Regions from separate parts of the Homo sapiens genome. Here region 1 is linked to region 2. The links are contacts of gene promoters, found by promoter capture Hi-C in human tissues and cell types (Jung and others, 2019). All regions are on one chromosome and are shown on one strand. The core of a region is centred on a gene start or on the middle of the fragment in contact, and the rest is flanking DNA. Distances in the headings are between cores, read along the strand shown.

The links. The method cuts DNA at HindIII sites, captures the fragments that hold promoters and counts their contacts. A contact is called where the count stands out against the background at its distance.
Region 1: a fragment that was not itself captured here is called in contact with the fragment with the promoter of OR10G2 in region 2 in 3 of the 25 tissues and cell types used here (H1 embryonic stem cells, hippocampus and liver).

The regions. Positions count from the first base shown.
Region 1 is chr14:21,676,960-21,682,957 of GRCh38, reverse strand. It overlaps TRA. Among named protein-coding and RNA genes, the nearest start is that of OR4E1, 6.1 kb to the right of the region's middle. The HindIII fragment of the contact is 4,222 bases long and covers 768-4,989 here.
Region 2 is chr14:21,633,623-21,639,641 of GRCh38, reverse strand. It overlaps OR10G2 (olfactory receptor family 10 subfamily G member 2), which reads left to right and starts at 4,702. Exons shown (of 1, transcript NM_001005466.2): 1 at 4,702-5,806. The coding sequence starts at 4,800. The coding sequence ends at 5,732. It also overlaps TRA. The HindIII fragment of the contact is 10,781 bases long and covers 1,403-6,019 here.

The sequences.
Region 1 (5,998 bases), core at 1,629-4,128, 45 kb before region 2:
TTTGTAAACTCTAAAGTGCTATGCAAGTGTAAACCACTGTTTTCATTTATTCTGTGGAATACATTTTGGAATAAGAGGGACATACTTTCAGGGAGGAAAAGCCTTAGTGGGACACCTCAGAGGCCATCTGTGTATAGTCAGAAAAAAGTCATGGGCCAAGGAGAAAGGCCACCAAGGGCTTGGGGGAAAGCAGGGAACTGTGATATAAGACAGTCAAAGATTAATTCTCAATCTTGCATTTTACTAAAAAAGTGGTGAGAGTAATTGCCTTACGATCAACTGAATATCATTTTCTGTATTGCCCTTGATATATCATGCCTATGATAAAGTACTTCTATTCCAAAAGTACAGAGGTGTTAAAAGAAAAATTTCAGCCAAAGGAGTTTAATTGAGAAATGAGTGATTCACAAATTGGGCAGCCCCCAGAATCACAGCAGATTCAGACAGACTCCAGTGCAGCCTTGTGGTGGAAGAAGATTTATAGATGAAAAAAAAAAAGAAAATGAAGTACATAAGTCAGGAGTGAGGTATAGAAACAGTTAGATTGGTTACAGGTTGGCATTTGCCTTATTTGAACAGAGTTTGAACACTTTGCAGTCTTTGAGTGGTTGAAGTATGGCCACTGGGATTGGCCAAGACTCAGCTATTGTTACAGGCACATACTCCTAAGCAAGGTTTTCAATTAAGCTAGGTTACAGTTCATCCACAAAACTCAAATATAGAAGTATGTAGTCTTTCTCAGGCTATATTTAGCTTGCTTTAACAATTCCCCACTTTTGGTCATTTTCTCAATTTTGAGAGATTGACCAAAACTTTAGTCATTAATGTCATGATCACCATCATAAATGTACTTATTTGGTCTTCAAACCCGCTGGGAAACAGTAGAAGAATGAGTTTTCCAAGGAGAGAATAAGGACTGAGTGGGTACCTCCCTATGCTGAAATATTCTGTTTTCAGGAGAAAAACAAAACCTGGTCTGTTCTAGAATTTATGTGTTTCCTTAAAGTCTTAGTTTCATTACGTCAAATTTAGCATAAGCAACTCCGTTTTGGTTTGGTTTGGTCTGTTGGGGTCTAGTGCATGATCTTAGTCCAATACAATGGCCTCCCATAATTTTGTTCTAAAAAATTCCCCCTTTTTGGCCAGGTTCTCACTTAGGTGAGAGCGTAACCAAACTTAAGGCCTTAGTGCCACTCTCAGTTACCATCATTTTGGGTTTCTGGTATCAGCATGTCCTTCATAGTTTACGGTGTCCTCATGGTCACATGTTTACTTCAGCTTTTGTCATTCCAGTTGAAGAGAGACCATTTGACATTCTAGAGATGGCTGCATGCAAACATTTAAAACCTTCAAGAGAATATAGTGCACCAGAGAGACTACTGTGGTAACTATTGGGAGGATAATACCAAGAGTTTGGAGTATGCTCCTTACCCAGGTTCCCCATAAACCAAACCACCTAAAATCAAATAGATCAAAGAATGAGCTAGATAAAGAGTCCACTTGCTTAACTAAGTGATCTTTTTGTTAATCCCCTACAACTGAATCTCTATAATACCCAATGTATTTCTTCCTAGGCCACAAGTGCTAGCACTGCACAGATTCTTCTCTGTTTAGCCAATTCTACTGTTTAGCATAACTGTCACAAGAGACTTTAAAGTCTGTTGTGTAAGCATAGTCTTTGCAGTAGAATCTGCTATAGTGCCTATCATGAGGGATACATTTCTAATCATTGCCTCTTTTACTTCAAACCACAGAAAAATGACCTAACAAATGATGCCTTTGGGAAGAGTGAAGACCTCCTAGCAACATTCTCTTTAGCCCACGATGTGGGTTAAGAGGAGTGAATCCATGTTCTGTTTCTGACTGATTACATGGCAATATTTCTACCTTTAAAGTTTCTCAACTACAATGGGCTTTCATTTTTTTATCTGTAAAGGTATAAGGTTATTCATGTGTAAGGCTGGCTGCAAAATCATTTATGAATAAAAGTATACCATATAAGTGCACACAACAGACCCCCTTTCCATTTCTATTGTTCACAGAGGCATAAACAAGGAAAAAGTATTCAAAGATAAGAGTCTCATAATAGTAGAAGTCTTGATCTGTGATCTTGGGAAAAGCTGTTTATATCAAGGATGGCATCTTCTTCTGGGGAGAAATTTCCCTGGTTAGCTTTACCTTAAGGGTTCCAATGGATGTACAGTTCCAAGAGTGTGGAGGGACCCTTCTCAGTTGTGAGATTACGAACCCAAAGTTCAAAGTTCCAAAGTTTTGCTATAGTGTGGATGTCAAGGACAGTCTTTCTCTGATGTTCTCAGAAGATCCAATCTTTGGGTTCTAGATTGTGTAGGGGCTGATTGTCCTCAGGGAATCATAAAAACCTTTCTTTACCAGGTGAAAATACACTGTAGCGTAATAATCTACTGTTATAACATCAGCCCTCTTGCATGGGAAAGCTTTTATACAAACAGAAAACATGCGTTGAAAATGGCAATTGAATGAAATCCCTTTATAAATGTTTAAATGGCCCATCGGGTAGCCAAGTGTACCTGAAGCTTTGGTTGTCTTCCCAAGAATATGGATTTAACAAACCAAATACTGGTTACAAACTAATTTAGCAATGTATAAGTCACCACACCAGTATGCATGTAATGTGGATAATTTTATCTTTTCCATGATGAGTCATGAAATGCAGAACCTTTAATAACAAAAGCTTTAAGGACTCAGGAAGGACAAGGCAGCCTTCCTGGTTCTCCATGAGTCCATGCTTAACACTAGACTTATGTCCTCTTGAATACCAGTTGTTTCTCTGACTTAGGTGCATAACACTGATAACTGACGGGTTGTCATAGGTAATTTCAGTTAGAGCATGGAGTTCATTCAAATTGTATGTCTCAACAATTTTAATATTGGCTGAGTTAGCATGAAAACCTGGCAAAGTATTTTCTCGGTATTTAATTAATTTTTGTTCTACTGGGGTAAGCAGTTTTATAAACCAATCAGTCTTTTTATTAAAGTTTCAGGAATTCTTACCCGGTCCAATTCTGGGGAAATTGGGGAATTTTACCCACGATGTGATTTTAAAGTTATTAGAAACCTATATTCAAGAGCACTTTTCAGGGTCCTTTCCATCCTTTCATGAATCTCCTAAAAGACATCATATTTTAGGATTTTATGTGCTTGTGAAATTTTTAGAAATTGCATCAGCATTATGCAATTACCTGTGGAAGTGACTTTAAATAGCTGTAAAGACAGAACAGACAAGGAAATGTGGTTATTTCTGTGATCTATAATAACAATAACCATAATTATGATTGATAGCATATACTCAGACATATCAGAATTTTAGAAATGCATAAAATTTTGGAATATATTATTATTATTCATGAAAATATAACCTGAAGAAGATTAAACATTGTTTTTATTTTGACGATCCCATGTAACTAAACATGTCAAATAATCCTGTTTATCTCTCTTTTAGATGCTTCAAGAGCCCTCTGTATCATCTCAAAATTAGAGGTCAGAAAAGACAATTTTGAAGCTGAAATTTGATTTTGAGAAGCCTATTAAATATGTTAAAGGTTTAAAACACTTAATATTATGAACTAGTATTCCAGATTACCATAAGTCATTCATTTAGCCAAAATGATGACTCGAAGTTTTCAAAAGACAAAAACCTTTACTCATTGATAAAGGACAGACTTAGCTTTCCAATTGGTCTGTTGTCTTTCCGTTTTTTCAGTAGTTTACTCAAAAGGCAAAGAAAAATCTTTCATTATCCTTTAATATTACATGAAAATCTTGTTCAAGAGAGAAAGCCAAATTTTACCCTTGCATTAGTATATTATTAATGTCAAACCCAATTCTTAATAAAACAAATTATATATAATTTGGATAGATTATAATCTATCTATTGTCTATTTGTCTATAGACAAATCTAACCAGTCTTCATCAGTTTGACCATAAGGTGAGATTCCGATAAACCTTTTATAACCCTTTACAAATTTTTGTTAAAGAGCAGATGAGTGCTTTAAGAAACCCCTGTTTGTGCTTTTATTTTGATGTTCAATTTACAGAAAAAACAAATAATCCCCTTTTAAATTTAGTCAATATGTTCACACACAGAATTTCTTTTACAAGATTAATTTTTACAACCCTTCTACACCTTGTTCAAGCTTTTAGCTTATTCTAACATAATTTAAAACAATCCTTTAACCCTCTAAACTAGGCAAAAATTTACATTCCCATGCCTTCTTATAATCTTTTGCCAAAAACACATTTTACTATCCTCACATACCCTGCACGTAAAACTATTTTTTTCAGTAATCTCAATCACATCTTATAATGGTAACTCAGCAACTTTTGCTTTTGGTGCACAGATTTCCTTTCACGAATCCTTTCATGACTTACACAGACTTTCATCTACAGTGTGCTTGGACTTTCTGACTTGTCCTAAACATCTCTCTTTTTAAATAACCATTATTTTACTTTAGGATAAGAATTTAACATACAGTATTCTTTCTTATATAAAAATATCTTTTCTTTATAACCTTCTTTGCATGGCTAAGGGGCATTGCTAATTCCACATGTCCCCAGGGCTTATCTAGAATCTAGTGTCTTCAAGGTAGGTAAATTGAACAATTTTCAAAAGTCAAAACAGTTCATGACCTTAAAGCATTTAATAAACCTAATATCTGACCTGCCTAATTTAGACCAAATGTCTTTATTTTACCAATAATCTTTAAAGCTGTTTTTATTTCCCAAAGATTACTAAAGTTACATGAGCTAAAAGACATTAGGATTTTTATCTTTCTTTCAAAATATTTGATTTAAGAGCTTATTTTTATGCCAATTAATTAGAGATCTTTTATATAAACATCATACACACAACACATACATAAATACACAGACAGAAGAAGATCCAGTAGTTATTAGATGTTTTATTTGCCAGTTTCTTAATTCTGGCCTTAGGGCAGAGCCCTTCAAGAAACAGGGCTAGGAAAACATGCAGTTTTTACAAAATCTAGAATCTTCAAAGGTAGCTCAAAGAAAGGAAAATTCAAGAAGGGAAGTCAGAAGTTGTTCATGGAGAGGAAGAGAATTAACAAATGATAAAGGTCACACAGATATCAACCAGAAAGTATGCATTTCCTAAGCCAGGATTGAATCCAAGCCACCACTGTGAAAGAACAAAATCTTAGCTACTGAGCTACAGCACTGGGAAGTCTCCACTGCCCATCCCAGAAGGAGTCTAGAGTAGTTAATTTTGAGCTTGCAAAGGCTTTTAACTACTCAAGATAATTTTTAGAGGTAACTATGACATGAACCCTAAAATTCCTTTTCCCTGGAAGGCAGAGAGCAAGAGAAAGTACCACCATATGGTCACAAGGTCAAGCTCCCAAAGACATAAAACAATATGGAGACCTTATCCAGTTTTTTTGTTTGTTTCAGGATCCTGCAGCAAAGTTTGTTACTGACCAGCTTGCTGGGCCATCTTGAGCAGTGGGCTTATGGGGTTTAAAGCCCATGTTCAATCCTATGGTACCCCTCTTTATGAAAGAATGATACAGAAGATGCATAAACATACCAGATTCGCTACAGCTTAAGACTAACCTCATAAATACTTTTTTCCATTAATCAAAACTTTGCAGAAGATAAACAGTGATTTTTTACCATTCATTTAACCAGTTTACACAGGGAAAGAGAGGCCAGAACTTTCCCAGTTTGCACAAGGAAAGAGAAGCACAGGGAAAGAGAGGCCAGAAACCTGACTGGTAAGAAATTCTTACACTTTTGCCAGCGTGTTAGGTTCCTGGGTTCCCCTTCCCTGAAACATACTATAGTGCCAGGGAGCCAACCACATACACAAAAAATCATGGAACCACAGGCAAAATTTTCTCACTGTTGCAGGATGCCACCCAAGGGGTTGCATAGGGTAATGAAATTAACATTTGGCATTCTGGACAGAGCAAAATACATGTGACAAAACATAGACATT
Region 2 (6,019 bases), core at 3,453-5,952:
TTTCCCAAACGGGCTAGAATTAAGTTCCTTCTTTTCAAACTTGGGGAAACTCTTTTTGTGTTGAGAAAATGACTCAAAAAAAAGCATTACAACACTATTTTCTTTTCATATTCTCTTTTTATTAGGGCAGTGATAAAGGGCAGAGTTGGGCAGTGATAAAGTCATAGGGGTCTTGAAGAATATTCTTCAGTGATTGTGCAAACACAAAGAAAGGCTGGATTCATAACCTTCCCCTTCTCCAATGAAGAGGGCACTAAGTACTTTTTCTAAAGCAAGTTCGTTTTTTTTAACCCCCGGTAATAGGAAAGAATGTACTCTTGTGAATTCGATAAAATATGTCTAGGCCACCTCAAATTCTATCCATTTCCTCTACTCTGCCCTAGCTCTACCAGGATGTCTAACTCTGAATAAAGGATGACAGAAGGTGAAACTTCTTTTTGGAAGCAGATTGGGTTGAGTTTTGTCACAAGGGTAAACAGGAGTCCTTTGATCATAATGTGTCCAACGCAATGCTGGACCAGCCTTCACTCCTCATCTTCAAGATTTCATAACCGTTGCATAGTAGTCCAGATCCCAAAGGTCACTGTAGAAATCTAGGTTCAAATTGCTGGATAGAGGCTTGCCCTCCTCGGCACCTCTCTAAATACACTGCAAGAAATGTGTTCACATATCAAACTAGCTTGATTTGGGGCAGAGTAGGGGCATAGAAAGCAGCTTATCCTGTGATCCCATAATGCCATAGAGGTCCCTTGAAGGTGTTCTTGACCCTCCCTGTCCTTACCTTCTCAGTGCTACTCTTTCACCCCATTCCCAAAGTCTCTTCTTAGAGTTTCCAGGATAATTGCTTTGTAAAAATATGCTGTTTATTCTCTGATGTCACTGGGCTCTTATTTTCAGATGCTTTTTATATTGAACTTTAACTTTTTGTTATTTTCATGTGTTTTGATTATTTAAATTCTGACCTATCTAATTGGAGAATATCCAATACAGTCTAAAACTTGGGGAATTTTAGAATATTTTGGTTATCTAATTAGCTAGGGTAGATATACTAAAATTGTATTTAACTTTCCTTATCTTAAATATCATAAGTTTCAAAAGCTAAAAAAGAGGAACAGACCTAAAATAAAATGACACAAATCTGGAAGATAAGGGAGGGGGAAAAGAGGATACACAAATACGGCCTCTACATTTGTCTTTTTTTTTTTTTTTTTTTTAGACAAGGTCTCAACCTGTCACCCAGGAAGGAGTACAGTGGCACCATCATGGCTCACTGCAGCCTTGACCTTCCAGGCTCCAGTGATCCTCCTGTCTCAGCCTCCTGAGAAATTAGGACTACAGGTGCCCACCATTATACCTGGCTAATTTTTAAAATTTTTTTTACAGACAGGGTCCCACTATGTTGCCTAGGCTGGTCTCAAACTTCTGGGCCCAAGCGATTCTCCAGCCTCATCCTCCCAAAGTGCTGGGATTACAGGCATGAGCCACCATGCCCGGCCTTTCTTTTGTCTCCTCTAAGGTGGTCCCAGACTGTTCACCTCTCTTGCCAAGAAAGCCAATCCTTCTGTAAACACACTCTTTGTTTCTCCAAAAATCTACCTTCTGGAAGTCTAAGCTATCTTCCTCTGCAGCCTCTGAATACCAAACACCAAGCTAAAACCACTGTTCTTTACCAAGTCTGCCTGGAAAGGTATCCTGTCCTCAAACCGACCAGCTATAACCCATCTCAGTTTCCTGCCTCCTCCCAGGCAGGGAACCCAGAACCTAGAGGGGTAAAAAGAGCTTTCTTTCAACAGGGAGCCTGGGAGAAATGAAACCAGACTTAGGCACAACAAAAGGGGGAAAATCAGACCGGCAAAGTAGATAAATTAGGGATAAACTTTTCACTATACGAAAGTATGCATCATGGAAGTCCTTCAAATAATTGCCCCAGTGGTACAGTTCTATCTGATTTTAAATATAAAAATGGATTTTCATAAAACATTTCATGAATATATTATTTGCCTAAGTAGAAGCCTACTAGTTTATATTCCTGTATTGGCAAAGAAAATTACTTTAGCTCAGCTGGGCGCGGTGGCTCACGCCTATAATCCCAGCACTTTGGGAGGCCAAGGTGGGTGGATCATGAGGTCAGGAGTTCAAGACCAGCCTGGCCAATATGGTGAAACTCCCTCTCTACCAAAAATACAAAAATTAGCTGGGCGTGGTGGCGCGCACCTGTAGTCGCAGCTACTTGGGAGGCTGAGGCAGGAGAATCACTTGAATCTGGGAGGCAGAGGTTGCAGTGAGCCGAGATCAGGCCACTGTACTCCAGCCTGGGCAACAGAGCAAGACTCAATCACACAAAAAAAAAGAAAGAAAAGAAAATTACTTTTAGCTCATAATAAGTATATATATATATATATATGTATATGTATATATATTTTTTTAAGAGATGGAGTCTCGCTCTGTGACCCAGGCTGGAGTGCAGTGGCGCAATCTTGGCTCACTGCAACCTCCGCCTCCCGGGTTCACGCCATTCTCCTGCCTCAGCATCCCGAGTAGCTGGGACTACAGGCGCCCACCACCACACCCAGCTAATTTTTGTATTTTTAGTAGAGACGGGGTTTCACCGTGTTAGCCAGGATGGTCTCAATCTCCTGACCTCGTGATCCACCCACCTTGGCCTCCCAAAGTGCTGGGATTACAGGCATGAGCCACCGCGCCTGGCCATAATTAGTATTTTATGCACCATTTTAATCTCAACTCTTTCTATCTTTGCTCTATATTCATTTTTTTTTTTTCTTTTTGAGACAGAGTCTCTCTCTGTCACCAGGCTGGAGTGCAGTGGTGCGATCTCCACTCACTGCAACTTCCGCCTCCCGGGTTCAAGAGATTCTCCTGCCTCAGCCTCCCGAGTAGCTGGGACTACAGGCGCCCGACACCACACCCAGCTAATTTTTTTGTATTTTTAGTAGAGACAGGGTTTCACCATGTTGGTCAGGGTGGTCTCCATCTCTTGACCTCATGATCTGCCTGCCTCGGCCTCCCAAAGTGCTGGGATTACAGACGTGAGCCACCACGCCCAGCCTCTTTTCTCTATATTCTAACCACAAAAATAAGATTTAGTTTTCCCATCCATTTTCAAATAAATCAAAGTGTCCTCCTGAAACTCAGGCAATAAAAATCTGATATTTCTTCGTTCTTGGTGGGCAAAGGACAAGTTTAACATTTTCCAGACTTCGAAGAGCCAGATATATTCAGTATTATTATTATTACTACTAATAACTCTTGAATGTTAACATATGAATTAAGTTATTTCACAGAATACTTAAGATAAAATCTCTTTGGAGAATTTCCGATAGAGATTAAACTTATTAATATTCACATGTTATTTATAATAATCTATTGTCATTTTAATTGCTTTATGAAAGTAGTCATTTGCATTACAAAGATATTTTGTAGTTAAATGAAAGATAAATGCATCTCAAACCATATATAGAGCGAAAAGTCTTTATCAAGCAACCTATTTAACAAAAAGAGTGAAACAAACACATTCCATCCCTCTATTTTATCATCTTGTTCAGATACTTGAAAATCTGTAAATGTCTTTAGAGAGAGTTGCTGTTTGATAGACTGCAATACATAGATATTACACACAAGCACACTAAAGATCAAGTCCTGCATTAATCAATGATTTTATAACAAACAATAAAAATTCCTCTGTGACCTCATACCAAAAAAAAAACCCAATCCCAAACCAATGAACCATATAAATCAACAAATAAATCTAAATGATATCCTGGAGCAAAAACAGGCATAAATGTTTCTTGGAGTTTTTTATAATGAAATTATACCCATATTACATGGTGAATGAGGTGGTCCCTTGACCTAAAAGTCCCAGCCATGTGAGCACAGGGGTCAGACAAAAAAGATCAAGAGAAACAATGTATTCAGTCAGGGGGATTTGGCAACATCCATTCTATCTATCTCAGTCATTCAGAAAATAATTACGGTATTTATCACTTTTAGCATGCTAGACGGGATGATTATTAAGAGAGAAAAACAGAAATTAGACAATGCAACATAATGTACGTGCTCAGAAAAGTATAAGCATTGTCCTCAGGGATCCGGAAAGCCTTCTTGAAGGTGAAGACACTCAAACTGAATCCTGAAGGAAAAGTGGGCACTACCTATGTGAAGGGAGCAGAAAAGATAGTGTGTGCGTAAGTCCCAAGTTAGAGCACACTACTGTGAGAAGCTTGAAGAGTGTCATGCCTCCCAACAATAAGAAGGAATTACAAGTGGTACAATAGCGATATAAATAAGGGCCAGATGAGGAATATTTTTGCATGATATGTTAAGGAGATGAGATTTTAGCTGAGGAAAAAGGGGACAATGATAGTAGGTGAAGAAAAAGTAGATGTGGTCATTATAGGGTGTTTGTTCCACACTGCTCTGCATCAACTTTAGCCCCTCCTTGGCGAACTCACTTTTTGGTTGGAATTTTCGGTACTTCTCTATCACTCTCATGTGTCCCTCTTCCTTCATCTGGCAAATCCTGGCTTTCAGTATCTCTCAATGGACAAGAGTTTCCTCCCATCTAGGAAACTAACCAGCCTCTGGAGGACTTCTCCTTTTAAGTAAACCTAAATAACTAATGGTGACACCACCTCCTCTTTTAAAAAACAATTTGACTCTATCTTGTTTATCTCATAATTCCTAGGCATCAATCATCCGACAAAAGCATTCACTTACAACATCATTGTGCTGTGTTTCTCTTGTCAAACGTCACCATTCATCTTAGCAGACTACAAAAAGACATGGGAAAGACCAAAAACACATCGCTGGATGCCGTGGTGACAGATTTCATTCTTCTGGGTTTGTCTCACCCCCCAAATCTAAGAAGCCTCCTCTTCCTGGTCTTCTTCATCATTTACATCCTCACTCAGCTGGGGAACCTGCTCATTCTGCTCACCATGTGGGCTGACCCGAAGCTCTGTGCTCGCCCCATGTACATTCTTCTGGGAGTGCTCTCATTCCTGGACATGTGGCTCTCCTCAGTCACCGTTCCTCTGCTTATTTTGGATTTTACTCCTTCCATCAAGGCTATCCCGTTTGGTGGCTGTGTGGCTCAACTGTATTTCTTTCACTTCCTGGGCAGCACCCAGTGCTTCCTCTACACCTTGATGGCCTATGACAGGTACCTGGCAATATGTCAGCCCCTGCGCTACCCAGTGCTCATGAATGGGAGGTTATGCACAGTCCTTGTGGCTGGAGCTTGGGTCGCCGGCTCCATGCATGGGTCTATCCAGGCCACCTTGACCTTCCGCCTGCCCTACTGTGGGCCCAATCAGGTGGATTACTTTATCTGTGACATCCCCGCAGTATTGAGACTGGCCTGTGCTGACACAACTGTCAATGAGCTTGTGACCTTTGTGGACGTCGGGGTAGTGGCCGCCAGTTGCTTCATGTTAATTCTGCTCTCGTATGCCAACATAGTAAATGCCATCCTGAAGATACGCACCACTGATGGGAGGCGCCGGGCCTTCTCCACCTGTGGCTCCCACCTAATCGTGGTCACAGTCTACTATGTCCCCTGTATTTTCATCTACCTTAGGGCTGGCTCCAAAGACCCCCTGGATGGGGCAGCGGCTGTGTTTTACACTGTTGTCACTCCATTACTGAACCCCCTCATCTATACACTGAGGAACCAGGAAGTGAAGTCTGCCCTGAAGAGGATAACAGCAGGTTGAAGGACTGAATGAAAATAAGTAACTACATCTGCATCATTATCACTGCCACTCTCTTCAGCTACTGCTGCATGTGACAAATGCCCAATAAACTGCTAAGGATTTAAAGTGAATTTATTTTCATTTTCTTTGGCAGAAAATTCTGAATTATTTCGACCCAAAATCTTTTCCCCTAATTAAACTGGTTCAGGTTGTTTTACATAATCTTTTAGAAATAAATGGATACATTATTTCTATCACCTCTATCTTGTGAGATGAGAAAATGCCTTACCAAAGGTTGAATAAGATGA